Regions from separate parts of the Homo sapiens genome. Here region 2 is linked to region 1. The links are contacts of gene promoters, found by promoter capture Hi-C in human tissues and cell types (Jung and others, 2019). All regions are on one chromosome and are shown on one strand. Each heading gives the region's core, a stretch centred on a gene start or on the middle of the fragment in contact. The rest is flanking DNA. Distances are from core to core; before and after follow the strand shown.

Evidence for each region. Contacts are between HindIII fragments. The study calls those that stand out against the background at their distance.
Region 2: a contact is called between a fragment that was not itself captured here and the fragment with the promoter of ACER3 in region 1, in 9 of the 25 tissues and cell types used here (IMR-90 fibroblasts, adrenal gland, aorta and 6 more).

What each region holds. Positions count from the first base shown.
Region 1 is chr11:76,859,342-76,866,095 of GRCh38, reverse strand. ACER3 (alkaline ceramidase 3) reads right to left here and starts at 5,178. Exons shown (of 11, transcript NM_018367.7): 1 at 5,017-5,178. The coding sequence starts at 5,119. RefSeq lists silencers at 5,106-5,365, 5,406-5,505. The HindIII fragment of the contact is 20,791 bases long and covers 1-6,754 here.
Region 2 is chr11:76,804,250-76,810,974 of GRCh38, reverse strand. No RefSeq gene overlaps it. Among named protein-coding and RNA genes, the nearest start is that of TSKU, 24 kb to the right of the region's middle. RefSeq lists enhancers at 420-509, 3,431-3,480, 3,561-3,610. The HindIII fragment of the contact is 6,333 bases long and covers 1-5,270 here.

The sequences.
Region 1 (6,754 bases), core at 3,929-6,428:
CCAGCACTTTGGGAGGCTGAGGTGGGCAGATCACTTGAGGCCAGGAGTTCAAGACCATCCTGGCCAACATGGTGAAACCCCATCTCTACCAAAAAAAAAAAAAACAAAAAACAAAAATTAGCCAGGTATGGTGGTGCGTGCCTCCCAGCTACTTGGGAGCCTGAGCTGGGAGGATTGCTTGAGCCCAGGAGGCACAGGTTGCAGTGAGCCAAGATCACGCCGCTGCACTCCAGCCTGGGCGACAGAATGAGACTTCGTCTCAAAAAAGAAAAAAAAAAAAAAAAAGATGCTGGGCAAGGTGGCTCACACCTGTAATCCCAGCACTTTGGGAGGCCAAGGCAGGTGAATCACTGCAGGTCAGGCATTTGAGACCAGCCTGGCCAACATGGTGAAACCCCGTCTCTACTACAAATACAAAAATTAGCTGGGCATGGTGGTGCACTCCTGTAATCCCAGTTATGTGGGTGGCTGAGGCACGAGAATTGCTTGAACCCAGGAGCTGGAGGTTGCAGTGAGCCAAGATTGCGCCACTGCACTCCAGCCTGGGTGACAGAGCGAGATTCCGTCTGGAAAAAAAAAAAAAATGCAATCTGAGGAATTCAGAGAAAGAGAAGGCAAACTTATCAACGTAAATGCATAAAGTAGTTGTGGTGAAAAGGATAAAGATGTCCCAGGAGAAATTATGCTAACAAAAAAAACTTTGCATTAAAGGAACTCTTGGAGAGATTTCACAATCTTAAAAGTGCAAAGGATAAATTTTGGAAGCTGATACAAATTAGAAAAGAATTCATGAAGGGATAGTACTCATCCCGGCTGGGCATGGTGGCTCATGCCTATATTCTCAACACTTTGGGAGGCTGAGGTGGGAGGACTGCTTGAGCTCAGGAGTTTGAGACCAGCTTGGGCAACATGGCAAAACCCTGTCTCTACTAAAAATCCAAAAAAAAAAAAAAAAAATTAGCTGGGCATGGTGGCACACGCCTGTAGTCCCAGCTATGGGGTACTGAGGTGGCAGGATCACTTGAGCCTGGGAGGTCGAGGCTGCAGTGAGCTGTGATTGTGCCACTGCACTCCAGCCTAAGCAACAGAGGGAGACCTTGTCTCAAGAAAAATCCAAAAACCTGTTGGCCCTCATTAGTGTAGCTGTAGCTGGCTAAAAAAAAAAAAAAAAAAAAATTAATTTAAAAGAAAAAAGACAACTGGGCATGGAAGTTCACGCCTGTAATCCCAGCACTTTGGGAGGCTGAACAGGTGGATCACTTGAGGTCAGGAGTTCGAGACCAGCCTGGCCAAAATGGTGAAACCCCGTCTCCACTAAAAATACAAAAATTAGCCAGGCGTGGTGGCATGCGCCTGTAATCCCAGCTACTTGGGAGGCTGAGGCAGGAGAACTGCTTGAACCCAGGGGGTGGAGGTTGCAGTGAGCCGAGATCGCGACACTGCATTCCAGCCTAGGCAACAGAGCGAGACTCTACCTCAAAAAAAAAAAAAAAAAAAAATACCCATTCCATATTATGAGTTATGTGACAAAAAGGCAAGCACTGTTTTAATTACTCTTGATAAGTGATTTTTATAAACAAAATAGTTTATTTCTCAATGTTTTTAATGTTTTAAAGTATACTAAATAAATATGCTTACTTTTTTCATTTCCCTACATATTCATAACCAACAGTAAGAGAGTTTACAATGTTTGACAAAAAGTTTTAAAGATCACAGAACAATCATAACTTTTCCCATTGATTATTAACATAGTGTTACCTGGTTTTAACTTGCACAGTCATTTGTGTGGTCCCACACTATGATGCAAAGCAAGGACTGCCTGTACCTCTAACTTCTGGCAGGTCAAGGGGCTTATTATTTCACAATGAGAGACCTTTTCCTCTGGTCTTTACAATATGCTCAAACAAAAGGAATTTAAACTGATCTTGGCTGATGCTAGGAAGACAGTTTTCGGGTGCTGAAAGTGACTGAGAACTACTGCCATATCTGAATATGCAATTCCCCAAACACTTCATTATTCCCTAAAATACATATATTCTAATGCTGAAAGATAGTTGAAAGATGGTTGAGTAAACTGAATAGTTGTTCAATTTGTCCTGTGTGATAGCATAGTATTTCATATCTGTCTTCCTTTCTTGAATATAGGGGCAAAACAATGAATGTGTGATAGAAGTAATGATGGAGAGGTAACATGGATAGTAGCTTTAGAGTCAGACTTCAATGTGAACACTATCTCTACATCACTTACTGTAATCTTAGGTAAATTATTTCTTAGAACTTCAATCTCCTTATCTTTGAAATGGGGATAATAATACCTTCTTTTTGAAATTACTGTAAAGATCAAAAGAGATAAGATATATGAAGTGCTTAGCAAAGTGTAGTACAAGTGACCACTTAGATAATAGCTATTATTACATTATCCTTAATATTACCATCAATACTATTGTTAATGTAAATACTATCGTGATGTTAATATTGCACTTGCTTTAAACACATATTTTAAACATATTATTATTAATCAGCATATTTTTCAAAGATCAAATTATCTTAGTCCAAGATATATTACTGTAGATACTCATGACTTGCTATGGTAAGATGACTTGACCTCAACTTCCTCCAGATGATTTTCTCCCAAGGTGCATGCGCAAAGGGCTGCAAACATTCACTCATCCTCTTCTTGCAACCCCTCTGATTCCTATGTCAAAACCCTCCCTGCAGTCTGCTCAGAGTTTCCTCTTCTGAGCACATTGAGAACAAATGTCATTTCCCATTTCTCAGAGCTATCTGCCAGAACACAGTATCTTGCTCTCTCAGAGTCCACATGACTTACCGCCAGTTTTCTCTCTTTGCATTTTTTATATTTTTTTTGTAGAAATAGGGTCTAACTCTTGCCCAGGCTGGAGTGCAGTGGCATAATTACAGCTCACAGCAACCTTGAACTCCTGGGCTCAAGTGATCTTCCCACCTCAGTCTCCTAAGTAGCTGGGACTACAGGCACAAACCACCATGCATATCTAATTTTTTTTATTTTTTATGGAGACAGGGTCTCACTATGTTGCCCAGGCTGGACTCAAACTCCTGGCCTCAAGCAGTCCTCCTGCCTTGGCCTCCCAAAGTGCTGGGATTACAGGCATGGGCCACGATGCCCAGCCCAGTTTTTTCTTGGTTCTAAACTAAGAGTCATTATTACCTACATAGACCCATAAAGCTGCAACTAAGGCCAGCCCCTTTTCTCTATTAAATAATTTTTTCCTTCGAAAATATTGAGTTCATTGAACAATGTCTGATTTAACACTTTCAGTGACAGAAAGTCCTCTGTCCCCCAAGTCAACCTTTCCCATATCATTGGTGAGAAGGTTTTTCCTTATATTGAAGCAAACTTTTCCCCATTACAGTTAGTTTCTGCCCATATGCCCTAATTCCAGATTCCAAATAAATTAAAAAAAAATTATTCTATATGATAGCCCATCCAATATTTGAAGACTCTTGAATTCCTCTTTTCCATGTTACACATTTCCAGCGCAGAGTGCATGGTTTTACATCTCTTTCCTCGTGGTCATGGTTCTCTGGACCAGGCATGGGCTTGCCAAAGTGATCTAACAACAAACTGGTAAAGCGCTTCCTTTGCCAACATGTGGGTTCCCAAGTAATTGTATTACAAATGATCCCTTTGCCAATATTTCTCCATGATTATGTAAAAATTATTAATTTAATAGTTGAAGAAAAGTGACTCTTAGCCTAAATCATGGTCATAAGAGAATAGTACTAAAGTCCTGAAAACTGCAAAAAGTGTTCTTTTTTTTTTTTTTTGAAACTTAGCCAATTACCAGAACAGAATAAAGTGGGACCATTTGTCATGATATGCTTGCCTCTTTCCTACAAAGCCATGCACAGATGCCTGAGAACAGGACTCAACAATGAGAAGGTTAGCTAAGAAGAGTTTCACTTCACGTCCTGAGAAGTAGATCCAACTAAAAGAAGGCAGTAATCATTAGCCAAAGGATAGTCTTTGCACTTTGCCAGAAGCAGGTACCTAAAAGAAGGATCAAATATTGTGCTCTCAAAACCTGATTAAATGATAGAAAAAGAAGTGGCAGATTTCTCCTAGCCTGGCAGGAAAAATCGTCTAGGAAAACAGACAGACACCCACATAGGCACACAGAACAAGCCCAACCTGACCAGCAGTGCCTGACAGAGCAGCCGCTAAAGAAGAATGCTTAAATCCTCAGAAGGTGCAGTCGGTGGAAGTAGTGTCCTCAGATGACCCCTAACTCCTAGATAGTTGGATAGGACAGAATGGAGCAGGGACTTGGTCCTCTGTGCTCTTGGGAGCCTGGCAGGGGCAGAAGGTACAGGCTAGGTGCAAGATGCCTTCGACTCCTGGTGCAAGATGACAGTTGAATAATCATACTCAGAGAGCAGATGACCTCTGGTACTTGAAGACATCCTGGGGGATAGGGGTGGGATGGTTCAGATCTCAGACTAGTGAAACTGTTCCCTGGAGGTGAGCAAGGAGGTCTAATATTCCAGTGAAAAGGGAAGGGAAAGACGGTAGAATTCTCACGGATTGGGGGAAAGACGAAGCTAGGAACTGTACCCTTCTGGTGGTGGCAACAGCAGAGCAGGTGTCCTGGGCCCTCATTCCAAGGGGCAGGGTCCTCCACTCTCCCAGCCTGGCCCCACTCCGCTCTCGGGCAGGAATTCCCATTCCCAACCCGGCTCTTCAGGCTTTCCCCCTTAGGTCCAGCAGGGGCTCCCCACTTCCCACTGCTCTTCTGCCCCCCCAATCCTCAGGCCCCCTTCCTCCCTCCCAGACCCCGGTACTCCTCCCTCTACACACTGGACTCCCGGCCCGCTCCTCTCAGCCTCCCGCTGGCCCAGGGCGCCGCATTCCAGCTCCCGGGGCCAGGCCTGGCACCTCCCTTCGCGGCCAGGTTCGCTCTTTGCCTTCCTCACACGGCGTCTCCTCAGCCCGGTGCCCTCTCGCCCCCACTCCCCTCCTCAGGCCACACTCACAGAACTCGGCGATGTACCAGGTCACGGAGTAGTTCTCCTCGCACCAGTCCAGCGTGGAGGTCGTGGGGCCCCAGTAGCCCTCTCGGTCCGCGGCCGGAGCCATCACGCCGCCGCCGCCGCCGCCCAGGCGCTCCGCTCACTGTGCCGGGTTAGGCTGGCGACCAGGCCGGCTCCGGCCCAGCCCGCGCGCTCGCTCGCGCCCCGCCCGGCCCTGCCTCCCCGAGGGGCGGGGCCTGGCGCCGTTACTGACACTGCCCTGACGGAGGCCCCGCCCACCGGCGCCGCTGGGCCGCGGGGCCGGGCCAGGCCCGACCTGGTGTAAGGCCCACTCGGAGGGCGCCGGCTGGCCCCGCCCCTCTTCACCCTTGGGCGGGGCAGGGGCGTGATCCAGGAAGGAGCCGGGGGCCTGGGCTTCCTGGCCGGTGCAGACACGCCAATGGCCGTAGGTTGGGGGTTCCTGACATCCCAGAGGCTATATTCTGTCAGGATGTGCCAGAGCCTCTATTTGTGTGCGTGTGGTTTGATTTAATCGGGGCGGGGGTGGGATGAATACTTCTATCAAGCCCTTGCTTGATTAAACCTGTGCGGCGAAGCGCCTCTATGTCTTCCATTGAGCCACAGGCCTCAAATGGAGCCCCAAAACAGAGTACCCCCAACCAATCCCCGTGATTCTCAGGAAATAAACCGTGATTTTCTGATAAAGGTGTAAGTGTCTCTTCGGTACAAAGGGAAAGGGTGAACAACCCAGGACCGAAAAAAAAAAAGTAGGTTCTGAGATCCTAAAAAAAAAGAATGCTGCTAGCTAGAGCACTAAAGCAAAGTTTCCCTGCTTCGTTTGGGCCTCCAAGCACAGAGGTTTCCACGTTCTAACTATAATTGTGCCCTGCTCTTCAGGCAACCAACAGCCTACCCCTACTTCCAACTTCAAGTCTAATACTCCCAGCCCCCGTCTGGGAGTATCGTAGACGGCAAAACCCCGTGTCTACGAAAAATACAAAAATTAGCTGGGCGCGGTGGCTCAGACGTGTGGTCCCAGCTACTTGAGAAGCTGAGGTGGGAGGATCACTTGAGCCCCCGCGGTGGAGATTGCATGCAGTGAGCTGAGACTGTGCCAATCCAGCCTGGGAGAACAGAGCGAGACCCTGTCTCTAAATAAATAAATAAATAAATAAATAAATAAATAAATAAAAAGTCTAGTACTCCACAGGTCTGCCAGAGAGCTCTTCCTAAAACAGATGCAACCACCCTTGCCCCTAGTGTTCAGCTACACCAAACTCAAACTTTCCCCTCTCCTAGAATGCGCTGGGTCACCTGCCTTTGCTCCCACAGTTCAACTGGGACAGCCTAACTCTCTTCTCCGTTTGACCAACTCCCCACTCTTCTTTTAAAATCCAGCTCTCTGAAGCCATCCCAGATGTTTACACCCTAGAGCTTCCTTGCCCTTTGTTCACATCCTACTGTGCTACATCCTGATCAGAGACCTTGCTTTCCCTTCTTTATGGTCTTAGTATTAGGACTCTGCCTGAATACACAGTAAGAAATGAAGAGTAAAAATGAAGGATGATACAACTGCTATTTTCTAAATAAATAAGTCAGATGTGGTGCAAGTCAAAGGTAAAAGAGAGGACAAGGAGAGATGAAGAGCCCACAGCCTTTCTACAAAATAACCATAGCCAATTAGCAGGAAATAGATGCAGAACTTTTATTTGCTAGGTGCAAAACCTAGGGAAGCAGTGTA
Region 2 (6,725 bases), core at 855-3,354, 52 kb after region 1:
GAATATCCTCTCCATTTACATAGGGCATACACCGAGTATCCAATGGAAACCTCTAGAGGGTATTTAGACCCCAGGAAATTCTGTAATGGGGCTCTTCAACCCCTATGCTTGGGCCACTCCCACCCTGTGTGGTGTGTACTTTTGTTTTCAATAAATCTCTGCTTTTGTTGCTTCATTCTTTTTCTTTGCTTTGTGCGTTTTGTCCAATTCTCTGTTCAAGATGCCAAGAACCTGCACACCCTCTACCAGTAACACTCCTGCCTCCTGGCCTCCTTCCTGGTGTCTTCCCAGTGACCCACTCTCACCAGGCCAAGGAGCAGGGACAGGGTTCTCCTTTCCTCTCTGTCCTCATTTTTACAGGGAGCGGAGAGCGGACAGTGTTAACAATGCAACTTCCTCACTAGGTTTTTGTGAAGATCAAACATATCTGGGACATCCAGTTGCTTTGAAACATTACATGCCATTCAGGTAGACAGGAATTACTCATTTTATGATTGTTACTTTTAGTTTCTTTTCCTCCATAATTTCTGGCTACACTTTGAATTAAATTGTTTTATCAGCGCCCCCTGCTGAGTGCCAATGAAATAATGACCCAATCCTAACTTGGGATGGATTAGACCTAACATGTAGCGGGCAGAGAAAGCCAAAGGACTGACACTAGCATCGCACCAGTACTGACCAGTCAAAACCGACACGGCGTCATGTCCTGGGATGTGCTCCCTGAACCCCAGCCTCAGGGAGCGGAGGAAGGAACCCCTCAGTGTGCCAGGCCCTGTGACGGGGGCTCCAGCTGATTACCTTGGTAACTCTTTCAGCAGGCTCTGAGCTTGTTAGAAATGGGTTGTAAACAGTGTTCATGTCCCACGCTTCTGTGACGCAGCTTGAACATGGTAGGAATGATTGAATTCAAGGTACCCCAGCTCTCTGCCACCCCAATTTGAGGAGCAAAATACCTTCCCTGCTGACCTACCTTTATGCCTGGGTGCCTCCACATAATCAATTTTTTTGTTTGTTTTTGAGACAGAGTCTCGTTCTGTTGCCCAGGCTGGAGTGCAGTGGCGCGATCTCGGCTTACTGCAAGCTCCGCCTCCCGGGTTCATGCCATTCTCCTGCCTCAGCCTCCCGAGTAGCTGGGACTACAGGCATCCACCACCACACCCGGCTAATTTTTTGTATTTTTAGTAGAGATGGGGTTTCACCGTGTTAGCCAGGATGGTCTTGATCTCCTGACCTTGTGATCTGCCCGCCTCAGCCTCCCAAAGTGCTGGGATTACAGGCGTGAGCCACCGCGCCCGGCCAATTTTTTTTATTTTTATTTTTTATTTTTTGAGATGGAGTCTCCCTCTGTCGCCCAGGCTGGAGTGCAGTGGTGTGATCTCAGCTCACTGCAGCCTCTCTCTGCCTCCTGGGTTCAAGCAATTCTCCTGCCTCAGTCTCCCAAATAGCTGGGATTACAGGCTTGCTATTTTTTTTTGTATTTTTTGTTCTTTTAGTAGAGATGGGGTTTCACCATGTTGGCCAGGCTGCTCTTGAATTCCCGATCTCAAGTGATCCACTGGCCTCGGTCTCCTAAAGTGCTGGGATTACAGGCATGAGCCACAGCACCTGGATGCATAGTCAAATACTTTTAGTTAAAGCTCTGAGGTCCGTGTTAAAAAGCCAAGAACTCAGGAGGGGAATATGCCATGCTCTCATCTGACGTGAGCAGTGGCCACGTGATGTTCTTGGTCTTACCCTGTGCTGAGCGGGCTCTGTGGGGATAGGGAGGAGGCCTGGACAGGAAGGTCAGAGGACCCAGGATTTAAACTGGCTGGGTGACCATGAGTGGGTTACCCAAGGAGGGGAAGAATGCAGACTTGAGCTCTTGGGAGCTTTCTCTGATGAGCTTTTGGATCCCAGGGCAGCTGTCCTTGGCCAAGAGAACAACCAAACAGTTGAGACAAGTCTCTGGTCTGGGCTGAAGCCTGCGTCAAAGTTGTTGGACTAGCACTCTGGGATTCCATTTCTGATTCTGTATGTCTAATCTTTTGCTTCCCATTCTCTGCATTGAGCAGTCTGTTTGTGGGCTCTGGAATCGACAGACTCGTTTTTAAAATGTAGAATCTGTCACTTATCGGCTATGGGACCTTGGGCAAATTACTTAACCTCCCTGAGCTTCCATTTTCTCCTCTGTAAAACAGCTTTATATATAGCGAGAATGAATAAGTCAATACACACAAAGTGTACATCTCAGCGCCTGGCACCGAATAACCTGTCATTTCATCGGCAAGTTTTATTTTTATTTTAAAACAGACCCAAATTCCTACATTTCTTCCTATCTCCACTGCTACCATCAAGTCACTCTCATCTCCTTCCTGGTTTATGGCAAGGACTTCCTAATGGATCTCTCTGCTTCTGCTCTGGCACTCACAGCCAGGGCAATCTTTGTAAAGTGTCCCCAGAGCCTGTGTCACCTCTGTCTAAAGGCCTCTAATTGGCTTCCTGCTGTGACTGGAGTAAAATCCGCAGCACTGACAGTGGTCTATCCAGCCAGCCTCGCTGCCCTCAATTCTCCCATCAAGCCCCGGCCAGCCTCGCGTCCTTCCTGAGTGTGCCAAGCTCACTCACTCCTTGAGGTCTTTGCACCGAGATTTCCTCCCTTGGAAAAGGTTCCTCAGGTCCCCGCAGGGTTGGCTTCCTCCCTTCTTTTAAGTCTCAGCTCAAACGTGAGAGTAGCACCCAACCGCGTTACCTCTGCCGGCACCCCCGTCACCTCTACTGTGCTCCAATTTGCCCTCTTTGTAGCATTCACCATCTCCTCACTTACTTAGATGCCCAGGCACCCATTTACTGTTGGCCCTCCCCGTAGATGACCACCTCCATGACAGCAGGGACCAAGGTGGTCTGTGGTCATGGCTCTTTCCCCAGTACTTGTCTTTGGGTCTGGACACAGGAGACCCTCTAAACTATTTATTGAATTTTATTTTACTTTTTAAAAAATATTTATTTATTTATTTTAGAGACAGGGTCTCACTATGTTGTCCGGGCTGGTCTCGAACTCCTGGACTAAAGCAATTCTCCCATCTCAGCCTCCAGAAGTTCTGGGATTACAGGCATGAGCCACCAGGCCCGGCCTGCTGAATAAACATTATTTTTTAAATTCTATAAAACACCAGGTTGAAAGTTCTTTTATCGGAGGGGAAGATGTGAAAGTGGAGTCCTTGGTGGCTGCTGAAAACCGCTGCTCATCAGACTTCTGCGTCTGAGCTTGCCCTTCGCTTTCCTCTTGTGGGGACCCCTCTAACCCCCGGCCTGTGTATAGAGCGACAAGCCCGGCACAGGGCAGGGAGAAAGGGAGCAATGGGCGGGCGGAGAAAGGAACGGGAGTGTCTAAGGCAGCGCCCTCTGGTGGGCACAAACTCCGTGACAAGTTGGAGACCTGCAACACACTCCGCCCGCAACTCCATTCTTGCAAGTTTTCACCTAGTTTGCCCCTCTTGTCAGATGGGAACTCAAGCTCGTGCCCTGCCTATGCAGTCACTTTTCACCTTGTATTGCAGTCATTCGACTCTCCCATGGGATGGAAAGCCACTGGGGCCAGGGCTGGCTCTAGTCCATCTCTGGATGCCCCATGGCTAGGACTGTGGTGTCTCTGCCAAACACATGGCTTTCACGTGTATGTGGGGACAAATCCTGCACGCTGAGACCCAGGGGCCTACTCCCTGGGCTGCCCTAATCCTTTGAGTCACTCAGCATGCTGTTGGCTTTGTCTCAGAGTTTTATTATTCTTGTCATCTCTCACCCCATCCCCTAGAGAAAGGGCTTCCCACCAAATGACTTAGCCTCCTGCCAGGGCTAAGCAGGCTCCTCCGGCAGGTCTACCAATCAAGTTATTATACGCAACCTTTTTTTCTTCTTTCTTTTCTTCCTTCTCTCTCTCTCTGTCCTTCCTTCCTTCCTTCCTTCCTTCCTTCCTTCCTTCATTCCTTCCCTCCTTCCCTCCCTTCCTTCCCTCCTTCCCTCCCTTCCCTCTCCTTTCCTTCCTTCCTTCCCACTCCTTCCTTAATTTCTTTCTTTCTTTCTTTTTCTTTCTTTTTTTTCTCCTTTCAACTCAAATCACTCTGTGGAGAGCAGGAAGCAGACATAATTTGGGACAGGGCCTCTGAGTGTAAGTCCCAGGCCCTGCCACCTACTGTCTGGACATCGTTTTCCTTGACTGTGAAATGGGCTGATTCTAAGCCCTGCCCTGCTGTCCTCACAGGAAGGCTGCACAGAGCAAATGAGGTGTGGTATGAAATGGAAGATCCATGTCAACTTTAAAGTGTGGCCCAAACCTGATTATGCAGTAAGATCATCTGGATTTGCTTGTTTTGAAAAACTGAAAACTAAGACTCCCTACCCTCTCCCCACACACGGGGAAGTTTTAAAAGTATGTGACATTGAAGTCAAATTCTGGAACATTTGGGAAAAAATGAGATTTCTGGGCCTTTCTGATGTTTGGTGAAGGCTTGTGCTTTGAGCCACGCTGCAGGCAGCATGGAGCTGGCCCCAGCCTCTTCCGTCTTCACAGGGCATCACAGGCCCTCCTGGCTGAAGGAGCCTCAGAATCTCCTAGGCTGATTCGTCTTATGGCTGGGGAAGGGAGCAGGCTCAGAGAGGTGGGACTCACCTCTCCACAGGCAGTGGGGCTGCGGCGGGCTGAGTGAGGCGGGGCACAGACTTAATGGCCAGCAAGAGTTGGAGCAGAAGTGGGTCCCGGCCAAGGAGCTGGAGAGGCAGAGGTGGAGCCTCACAGGGGACTCCTACCCTAGCCCAGCTCCAGGCCTGTCTGTGCACATACCTGCTGCCTGTGAGGAGGGGAAAAAGAGAGAGCAGGGAATGGGGGTTTCCCTTGCAGAGGAACTGGAACAAATGCTGGAAGTCTCAAGAGCTGGTTTCTTGGTGGTTTCTTCCACAAGCTTGCTGTGAAGCCTTGGAAAGGCCACTTACTCTCTCTGGTCCTTCATTTCACCATCAGTAAAACGGATATAACAGACCCATTTATTAATCCTACAGATATGAATCGACAACCAACTATGTGCTGGGCACCAGCCTAGGTGATATGGACCCTGTGGGGAGCAAGGCAGGAACAGTTCCTGCCTCTGGGGATGAGTGGAAGCTGGAAAAATAAACACAAAGTAAATATGATGAGCATCACTCTGAAGGCAAGACCAGGTACTGGGCTGGCACAGAGGAGGAACGTCTAACTTTGCCTGTCGTAGGATGAGGGGAGGTGGTTAGGGAGGGCTTCCCAGAAGAGGTGGCATGGCAGCTGAGGTAGGAGGGATGAGTGGGAGCTAATCAGGCTGGTGGGTGCGAGGACAGGGAAGCATTCATTCCTCCCCCTCTCCTCCTCTATCCTTGAGGTCACCCTTCTTTAGAACATGTTAGCAAAGGATGTCTGTGTAGTCACTTCTGAGGTCTGTTTAGAATCCAGACTCACTCCCACATGCCCAGCATGCACCCATTCTGTCCCCTCCCCACCAGCCTCACGTGTCTGAGCAGGATGTCGAATGTTACCGGTGGGTGGGGCAAGTCCAGGAATGACAGTGTTTGTGTCTGTGTGTGGGGAGAGTATTTAAAGCTTGCACTAAGTATGACTTTGCCCACAGTCTGCGGGAAGCGCCCAAAAGCTACACCTTTCCCAGGGTCCTCTGGGAGTGCTGGTCTGTCCCCTCCACCTCCTCCCCTCTGAGCAGCTTCCACCTGCCCCCACACAGTGACTGGCCTCATTTAGCCTCAGTTCCCCTCTTGGGAGTCCCTTGGTCCGATGGAAACAGGACAGTGAGCCTGGCGTGGTGGCTCATGCCTGTAATCCCAGCACTTTGGGAGGCTGAAGCGGGTGGATCACCTGAGGTCAGGAGTTCGAGACCAGCCTGGCCAACATGGTGAAACCCCCATCTCTACTAAAAATACAGAAATAGCCGGGTGTGGTGGCGGGTGCCTGTAATCTCAGCTACTTGGGAGGCTGAAACAGGAGAATCGCTTGAACCCCGGAGGCAGAGGTAGCATTGAGCTGAAATCATGCCATTGCACTCCAGCCTGGGAAAGAAGAGCAAACTCTGTCTTTAAAAAAAAAAAAAAAATCCGGGCACAGTGGCTCACGCCTATAATCCCAGCACTTTGGGAGGCTGAGGCGGGTAGATCACAAGGTCAAGAGATCCAGACCATCCTGGCCAACATGGTGAAACCCCGTCTCTACTAAAAATACAAAAATTAGTTGGGCTTGGTGTCACGTTCCTGTAGTCCCAGCTACTCAGGAGGCTGAGGCAGAAGAATCACTTGAACCCAGGAGGCGGAGGTTGCAGTGAGCCCAGATCGTGCCACTGCTCTCCAGCCTGGTGCCAGAGCAAGACTCCATCTCAAAAAACAAGCAAACAACAACAACAAAAAACAAGACAGTGAGTTCAGGTCTTTATTCTTCCTGATCCCAGTGGCAGGTGGGGAGAAGGGACCCATGGAGAGTCCAGGAGGGAGAGGTGGGTTTGTCTGGGGACTGGGGAGGGGTCCGGGAGGAGAGTGCAAGGTTACCTGGAGGGGCCATGCCTGCTGGGTGGTCTTGAGACAAGAATGTAAGGAGATGCGCTCAGGGCAGCCCCTCATATGCTTTCAAACACCAGGCAGCGTGCTTCCTTCAACCGCCCCTCTCTGCCTGCTCCCCTCAGCTGGGTTGTTGTCAAGGAGGGTGGCTTTTTCATTTGGCATCT